Regions from separate parts of the Homo sapiens genome. Here all the other regions are linked to region 3. The links are contacts of gene promoters, found by promoter capture Hi-C in blood cells and fetal thymus (Javierre and others, 2016). All regions are on one chromosome and are shown on one strand. The core of a region is centred on a gene start or on the middle of the fragment in contact, and the rest is flanking DNA. Distances in the headings are between cores, read along the strand shown.

Region 1 (2,712 bases), core at 12-2,511, 230 kb before region 3:
TTTTTGCTGAGGCAGTTATTGTCCACAGGCCTTTGGGTACAGATGAGGCCTTGGGGCTGACTGCATGTGGCAGAAAACGGGTGGGTCAGCCCTTGAAAAGTCTTGAGATATAAGTGTGAGTACTATACAAGCATTAAACTGGAGTGCAGTAAACCTAGGAACCTTCCCACAATTGTTTTTTTGTTTGTTTGAGATGCAGAGTCTAGAGTGCAGTGGTGCAAGCTCAGCTTACTGTAACCTCTGCCTCCTGGATTCAAGTGTTAGTAGCTGGGATTACAAAAGCATGTGGCCCCACGCCCAGCTAAGTTTTGTATTTTTAGTAGACATGGGGTTTCACCATGTTGCCCAGGCTGGTCTTGACCTCCCGACCTCAAGTGATCTGCCTGCCCCGACCTCCCAAAGTGCTGGGATTACAGGCTTGAGCCACCGTGCCAGGCCTGTTTTGTTTGTTTTTGTAGAGAGATGGGGTTTCGCCATGTTGCCCAGGCTAATCTCAAATTCCTGAGCTAAAGCGATCTGCCCACCTCGGCCTCCGAAAGTGCTAGGATTACAGATGTGAACCACTGTGCCTGGCCTGTTTGTTTGTTTGTTTAAAACATTTCTCCATCACTCATTCCAGGTCCCAGAGCAAACTCTCTCTGCTCTCGGAGCCTGTGACACTGGCTATGTGCTCCACAGTTTCAGTCCCAGGTCATACTCTCCAACAGTTTTCAGAGCTCCATATATATGTAGATGCCATCCTTTCTAAAAACTTCTCACGACCTCCTGGAATATTCCTATTGATCTCATTTTATTTAGCATCAGCTCAAGAAACTAAGTCTTAGTGCACAGTATCACAACAAAGAAAAAGCTTTGTTTTTATAACTGGTAAAAACAAGAAAAGATTCTCATCAAAATGAAAATATAAAATTAATCATTTCTCACCAAAGAGTATGCCTGGGAGCCTCCAGCTGTTAAAAGACAATGCTATTACTACTTCTTATCAAAAATCTGTAATGCCCTGTGATTTTTATGATACTTCTTCAATACAAAGTGTTAATATGTGTCATCAGTATAATAACAACCAACAAAATGCCACTTTCAGAAAACTGTATGTAAATTTTTTGTAACAATGTAAAAAAGAAATGGGGAGTAAGTGTTCACATCATTAAAAGGCTTTGAATTCATGGAAATACATCAACTGTGTGGTTTCTTTGATTAACCATTTCCCCTTGTGGATTTTTTTTCCAGTAAAGCCGTCCTTCAAAACCCTTGTGGATTTTTTTTTCTTCTTTTTTTTTTGTTTGAGTCTTGTCCTGTCGCCCAGGCTGGAGTGCAGTGGTGCCATCTCAGCTCACTGCAACCTCTGCCTCCTGGGTTCAGCAATTCTCCTACCTGGACTACAGGTATGCACCACCATGCCCAGCTAATTTTTGTATTTTTAGTAGGGTATCACCATGTTGGCCAGGCTGGTCTCGAACTGACCTCAAGTGATCCACCCACCTCAGCCTCCCAAAGTGCTGGGATTACAGGCATGAGCCACCACGCCTGGCCTCCTTGTGGATTTTGAATGACTTGACATATTCAGTATTTCTTCATATTCAATTTTTCAGAGTCGTATCCTCTGTGGGGTGAGGCAAGCCTGTCTATTTGGGGACTATGCTGGGATTCCAGGGAATTCAGAGCAAGCTTACCGATCATTTGCAGGAATAAACATTTTCCAATTCTGAATTACCACAATGAGTTTTTTTTTACTTTTTTGAGTGAAGTAACCTTTCATTTTCTGCAACCAATTAAAACTGCCTTTTCAATCGATGTTTGGTTTTTGCTCCCTAACATTAACAACTATGAGAGTGGGAAAGGTTATGTTAAAATGTTTGGCTCTTTTAGGAAGACTTTCAGTTTGATTAGCACACTGATGGTTTAGTTTTAAATTTGTGCTATTTTGCTCATTGTTTCATTTTATTTACACCAGCGACAGCCGCAGTCAGAACTGCAGTTGCTGATCCTGCAAGGTTGCTGTTTGGTGAGCAGGGTCATTCACAAAGTCTTTGGTTACATATTTGGGTGTTTAGGATACATATACACCAGGATGGACTTTAGAAAAAGGAAGTAGGCCGGGTGCACTGGCTCAAGCCTGTAATCCCAGCACTGTTACGTGCAGGTCTTTGTTCTTAGAGCTCCCAAGATGGTGGTGGGCCGCTCCCAAGATGGGGCAGGCCACACCCAAGATGGCAGCAAGCCTTTTGTTCTCTGACCTGGGGTTCTTGGCCTCAGTGGATTCCAAGGAATGGAACCTTGGGCCATGTGGTGAGTGTTAAGCTCTATTAGAAGCCGTGGGTCACGGAAGAGAACCGTGGAAACCAGCAACTAGTGTTCAGTTCGATTAGGATGAACCTGGGCACTTAGTCATGCAGAAACAATGGCGAGCCTTTAGCCTGATCAGGAGCAGCAATGGGCGCCTCGCTGGATCAGGAGCACAGTGGACACTCTGCCAGATCCGGAGGGGTGGAAGTCAATGGTGGGTCTGCAACGGCAGCAAACAGCAGTGGTGGACGGCTCGGCTGGAGCCGTAACAAACACGGACAAGAAGTGTAGCTGCAAGATTTAATAGAGTGAAAACAGAGCTCCCATACAATGGGAGGGGACCCAAAGGGGGTTGCCCGATCCGGTTCGAATGCCTGGGTTTATATCCCGATCATTGTCCCCTCCCCATGCTCTCAGGCGATATAT
Region 2 (3,054 bases), core at 388-2,887, 130 kb before region 3:
AGTTAATCTTGTTATAACATAAGCAAAGTACGATATTTGATACATAGCCTCACTTTTAAAAAGAAGTGTTAGATTTTAGTACTTTTTTTGTTTTGTTTTGTTTTTGAGACAGAGTCTCACTCTGTCACCCAGGCTAGAGTGCAGTGGCACGATCTCAGCTCACTGCAACTTCTGCCTCCTGTGTTAAAGCGATTCTCCTGCTTCAGCCTCCCGAGTAGCTGGGATTACAGGCATGCACCATGACGCTGGCTAATTTTTGTATTTTTAGTAGAGACGGGGTTTCACCATGTTGGCCAGGCTGGTCTAGAACTCCTGACCTCAAGTGATCCTCCTGCTTTGGCCTCCCAAAGTGCTGGGGTTACAGGCGTGAGCCACCATGCCCAGCCAAAGATTTTAGTACACTTTTAAAGAAAGCATCAAGGATTGGTGGTGGGGTGGTGGTTGCTGCTGCTGCTATTTCAACACTATTTCTTCTAAGAGGATAATAAAACACTTTGAGAAAGTTGTGGCTTCTTTTTTTCTTTCTTTAGCAGGGGAAAGGGATAGGGATACTGAATTGTAGAATCCCTTTGCTCATGAAGAATACAATGTATTTCTCAAAATGCAAGAACTACTTGAATTACAATACTCAAAATACTTTTTCAATTGCAGATTCCTGCACCAACTCCAGAACTACTGCCAGGGAACTTCTGAGAGTGGGATCTGGCTTGCTATGTTTTAAGCCAGCTCCCCAGGTGATTGTTATAGTCACTAAAGTTTGAGAATCCCAGATCTACAACATCCTCCCGCACCAGCACCCAAGATTTGCATTTCTGCTCTTTTTTTTTTTCTTTCAGACAGGAGTCTTACTTTGTTCCCCAGGCTGGAGTGCAGTGGTAAGATCACGGCCCATTGCTGCCTTCACCTCCTGGGCCCAGGCGATCTTCCCACCTCAGCCTCCCCAGTAGCTGGGACCACAAACATGCACCACCACACCTGGCTAATTTTTGTATTTTTTTTTTTTTTTTTTTGTAGGGATGGATTCTCCCTGTGTTTTCCAGGCTGGTCTCAAATTCCTGGGCCCAAGTGATTCTACCGCTTCAGCCTCCCAAAGTGCTGGGATCATAGGAGCAAGCCATAGCTCCCAGCCCTGCATTTCTACTGTTTTCAAGAACTTGGGCTCTGGTTGGACTGAGAAGTTCACAAAATTCCACTTTTCCGGAGAGGTTGCAAAATTCTTACCCCCATCCCTTTGAACTGCAAAAGTACATTCTTTATCTTCCCATCTCTCCAGGAAAAGCTTTCCTTGCACCCTTTACCCCCATTCCTAGTCTGTTCCCACACTGGGTCTTTATTCTCTCCCAAACAAGTTTGCCCTGTTGTACTTGGAGATTCAAACCCTGTCTACGATGCCACTTAATAAAAGTTATTTTTTAAACCTGAAGTTATATAGTGTATTAACTTGTATGCAAGAGTTCTATTTTGACATATTTTCAATGAAGATGCTGGAACTGTCATTCCAATTTTAATGGCTTTACAGATATTAAACATCAATAGGTGTTTCCAAATTATGTCTCCTTTTGGCTTTCACTTTTCCGGGCAGTCAGATTACACCCAAGGATTAAAAATCAGCATAAAACAGTCTCTACTTTAGACCTCAGACTTAAAAAATTCCGAATCTTGTGACTTTCTCTCTGGGAAAGTAAGTAAAAAATGAGTTTTCTCAACAGCAGCAATTCCAGCCAGGGTCTGCATGATAAGATATCTGTCTCGGGGCAGTGTTCACAGGTTCCAGCCAATACTGCCTGATCCAGATCCAACTGTGAGCTGTCTCTCTTCCAACAACATACTCATTTTATATTCCTCTGACACTGCTTCAAAAAGGACATGGAGAAAGAAGTCTATTTTCAACACATGCTGTGTCTACAATGATGACATGCATGGTGATACCCACCACCCACATCACAAACACCCTGCCAAGTCCTAAGCTAATTCGACTTCACAATGGCAAGCTTTTCAGATGCCCAGAGGTTTTATGGTGATTATTTGACGATTCAACACGAAAGCAGCTCCTGTTGTTTGCCACATCCACACTGAGCTTTCCATTCATTCAGAATGACAAGGCATTCATAGCGTCTCGCAATCAATTTTGAGATGTCTCTGTGAGTGAAAGAGCTCCATTGGCAACATTGCAAGGCCCTTTTTGTAAGTCACCATTTCCATCCCTACCCCATCCTGTCAGAATGACTGGGGTCACATTCATATTGCAGACCAGCAGAATCAGTGGGAAGCCGAACTTGGAAGATTGGATTTGATCTCATGCATCATACTATCTTGATTTTGGAAATGAGAGACAGTCACATGCAATTTGAGAGACTGCCAACCTGAGACACATTTTGAATTATACCATATGTCACTGGCTTTAAGCATGGTTTCAGACCAGTTCATTTTGAATGACACTCGCGGTGGCTCACGCCTGTTATCCCAGTACATTGGGAGGCCGAGGCTGGCAGATCACGAGGTTACGAGATTGAGACCATCCTGGCTAACACGGTGAAACCCCGTCTCTACTAAAAATACAAAAAATTAGCCGGGCGCGGTGGCGGGCACCTGTAGTCCCAGCTACTTGGGAGGTTGAGGCAGGAGAATGGCGTGAACCCGGGAGGCGGAGCTTGCAGTGAGCCGAGATCGCGCCACTGCACTCCAGCGTGGGCAACAGAGCGAGACTCTGTCTCAAAAAAAAAAAAAAAAAAAAAAAAAAAAAAAATCACAGGCCAGGAATGGGGGCTCACGTCTGTAATCCTAGCACTTTGGAAGGTCCAGCTGGGAGGATTGCTTGAGTTCAGGAGTTCAAGACCAGCCTGGGCAACATAGTGAGACCTCATCTCTATTTTTTTTAATTAAAAAATTTTTTAAAAAAGAAAGGGCACATCTCAGACATGTAATACGACTAATGATTAGTCTCTGAGCCATACAGCATTCTGCTCCTGAGAAAGATGTACATAGTGAAATAAATGTATTTCCCTTGAAGACCTCTGTATGTGGTTTCATCTTGTCTTTTTCATCTTTTCCTAG
Region 3 (2,762 bases), core at 134-2,633:
CACTCAACAGCACTCTTTTTTCACTGCCACTTTTCCTGGTCAGCCAGCTATTTTATTGTTAGTCCACTGTGGTGCACTGCAGATAGGGGCCATTGTATCAACAACATGGGAAGGTGATTCCTCTTCCCCTACACCTTTCCCTCCCTGCACTCACATAGCTCATAAACCAATGCAGGTAGAAGGATTATGGTACATTTATATAACAAATAACAGAGCAGGAACAACTGCTAATCATCACCCTCTCCTTTGTCTTTTACTTATGATCTGTTACCAGCTCTTTTTTCTTTCCCTCTGCCACTACTGGGCTTGTTAATATTTCGTTACTTTTCACTTCATCAGTCATCTTCTAGTCTCTCCTCCCACTTGCCACAAGAAGCTCTGGTCATATCATTTCATTTCTCTAACCTTCCTCCCTGCAACTCCCACTCTGCAGGCCTACAGAATTCTGTCTTGCTTCCTTCACCATTCTTCCACACATCTTTCTATTACTCTGTGGTACTCACCATTCCCCTGGCACATTCATGCATATTCACTTCCTTCCCTCCCGCCCATGCAATGCCATCTTTCAGACCCCAGGATCCTCTCCCATATCTCTGTGAACCCTGAATATCTGAGACAGGTCTCAGACAATTTAGGAAATTTATTTTGCCAAAGTTAAGGACGCCCGCCCGTGACACAGCCTCAGGAGGTCCTGATGATATGTGTCCAGGGTGGTCGGGGCACAGCTTGGTTTTATACATTTTAGGGAGACATGAGGCATCAATCAATATATGTAAGATGAACATTGGTTCCGTCCAGAAAGGAGGGACAAATTGAAGCAGAGGCGGGCCAACTCAAAGTGAGGAGGGGGCTTCCAGGTCGCACGTATTACAGCTGAGAGACAAATGGTTGCATTCTTTTGAGTTTCTGATGAGCCTTTCCAAAGGAGGCAATCAGATATGCATTTATCTCAGTGAGCAGAGGGATGACTCAGAGGGATGACTTTGAATAGAATGGGAGGCAGGTTTGCCCAAGCAGTTCCTAGCTTGACTTTTCCCTTTAGCTTAGTGATTTTGTGGCACCAAGATTTATTTTCCTTTCTCACCTCTAATAAGATTCAGGAGGAAATATGCACGAAGAATAGAAGGTGCCAGGGGACATTGCTGAAAGACCAAAGGGCCCAAACCTGTTTGACCTTGTCCATTTGGAGAGCAACAGATAAAAATATAGCTGCACTACCAATTATTACTACTCCCCCCAAAAAGACAACTGAATTTTCAGTGTAACAGACAGCACTTTACAAAGACACTTGGTCGAAAAAGGGTCACTCCCGGGCTCTGGGAGGCGAAGAGGACTGTGGGAGCGCTGTTCGTTGTCCCGCGGGCTCATGGGAAATGTAGTGCAGTTTTCTCCAACATGGCCGCGCCCAGGGGAGATGGCGTGCAAGTATCCGCTGCGGTGTTCTGGTGCTAGAGTGGAGAGGCTGGCAAAGAAGAAGGCACACGCATGGTGAGAATCCGGCCTGAGCCGAAGCGGAGGTGTGTGGCACTTCTTACTGGCGGGCATACGGGCAGCAAATCACCGCTTCCTCTTTTCAGCCTCTTCCGGTCTTCTCTATCCGCCTTGCCAGCTAGGGCTGAGAACCTAGGGAAAGGGGATGGATCCCAGAGGCGCCCTTGGTGCAGTGTGGGCAGTAGGGTGTCTGCGTTGGGTGGTTCTCTCAGTGTTTAGGGTGCATGTGTTTGTGTTTGGTTCGGGCGCTCACGTGGTGCCTGTGTCAATCTTCTGTTTTCTTTGGGGTTGGAGAGGACGGTTGCAACATGGGGCGTGTTAGTGTGGCGCTTCTGGGGCTTTTCTGACCGGTGACAATCGGTCTGATTGCATCGATGCAAAGGCAGTGCTGATGATCTGATCCCTTGCGCAGCTGAGTCTTCCTGTGCTCTTATTTGAGCAATCCCTGCGACTCCTGGACCTCTGGTAGCGTCAGCCTGTTATTTTGATAGATTTCATTGAATATTTATTGTCAGTTGTATGTCAGGCACCAAGTCTGTGCCCTTAAATAGATGACAGTTTTCTGGCCGAAGCCCAACACAAACAGGCAATTATAATACCATGTGAGAACTCTAGAGATAGAGGTCCATGCTAGGTGTTAATGAAAACGTTGAAGAAGGCCACCAAACTCAGAATTCTGGAGGAGGGGAGGTTTAGGAGGTAAGACAGCAAAGTCGATTTAGGTTTATTCGACAAATGGTTATTGAGTGGCTGCTAGGTGCTAAATCCTGTTTAAGTGCTGGGTGCTACAGGGTGAACAATAGAGACAAAATCTCTACTTCATGGAGTGAGTGTTCTTTATTCAGTTATGGGGAAAGACAGAATAAACAAATTAATGAGAGTGTAAGAAAATATGTAGTAAGTGTTATTCAAAGAGTTAAAACGGGGTGCCGTGACAAGTGATGGGGTGAATTTTTTTCTAAAAATTTTAAATCTTTATTTTCTTTTTAAATAGATGATGCAGTTTAAATAGCTACTAACTTCAAAAGTCATGAAAGAAGAAAGCTCCCTTTCATTCCTTTACTCATCGATCCATTTTCCTTCCCTGGAGGCAACCCATATCACCAATTTCTTGTGTGTCCTAAAGATTTATATGTAAACTCTGTATACCAGTGCCGTACGTTAAAATTGGGCCTCGTTTGATAGGAAGTTAGATTCTTTCTAATCTTTGCTATTAATTATTAGGTTGTGCAAAAGTAATCATGGTTTTTGCATTTTTTTAAACATATAAG

What was found. The method cuts DNA at HindIII sites, captures the fragments that hold promoters and counts their contacts. A CHiCAGO score of 5 or more calls a contact.
Region 1: a fragment that was not itself captured here is called in contact with the fragment with the promoter of ALKBH8 in region 3 in 1 of 17 cell types (activated CD4 T cells); the score reaches 5.8 in activated CD4 T cells.
Region 2: a contact is called between a fragment that was not itself captured here and the fragment with the promoter of ALKBH8 in region 3, in 2 of 17 cell types (endothelial precursors and M2 macrophages). The highest score is 5.9, in endothelial precursors.

What each region holds. Positions count from the first base shown.
Region 1 is chr11:107,789,455-107,792,166 of GRCh38, reverse strand. SLC35F2 (solute carrier family 35 member F2) reads left to right here. Exons shown (of 8, transcript NM_017515.5): 8 at 1-1,176. Among named protein-coding and RNA genes, the nearest start is that of SLC35F2, 68 kb to the left of the region's middle. RefSeq lists a silencer at 1,383-1,592. The HindIII fragment of the contact is 818 bases long and covers 853-1,670 here.
Region 2 is chr11:107,698,853-107,701,906 of GRCh38, reverse strand. No RefSeq gene overlaps it. Among named protein-coding and RNA genes, the nearest start is that of SLN, 12 kb to the left of the region's middle. The HindIII fragment of the contact is 712 bases long and covers 1,282-1,993 here.
Region 3 is chr11:107,564,356-107,567,117 of GRCh38, reverse strand. It overlaps ALKBH8 (alkB homolog 8, tRNA methyltransferase), which reads left to right and starts at 1,383. Exons shown (of 12, transcript NM_138775.3): 1 at 1,383-1,517. RefSeq lists enhancers at 1,091-1,150, 997-1,513, 1,221-1,710, 1,514-2,032. The HindIII fragment of the contact is 7,705 bases long and covers 1-2,762 here.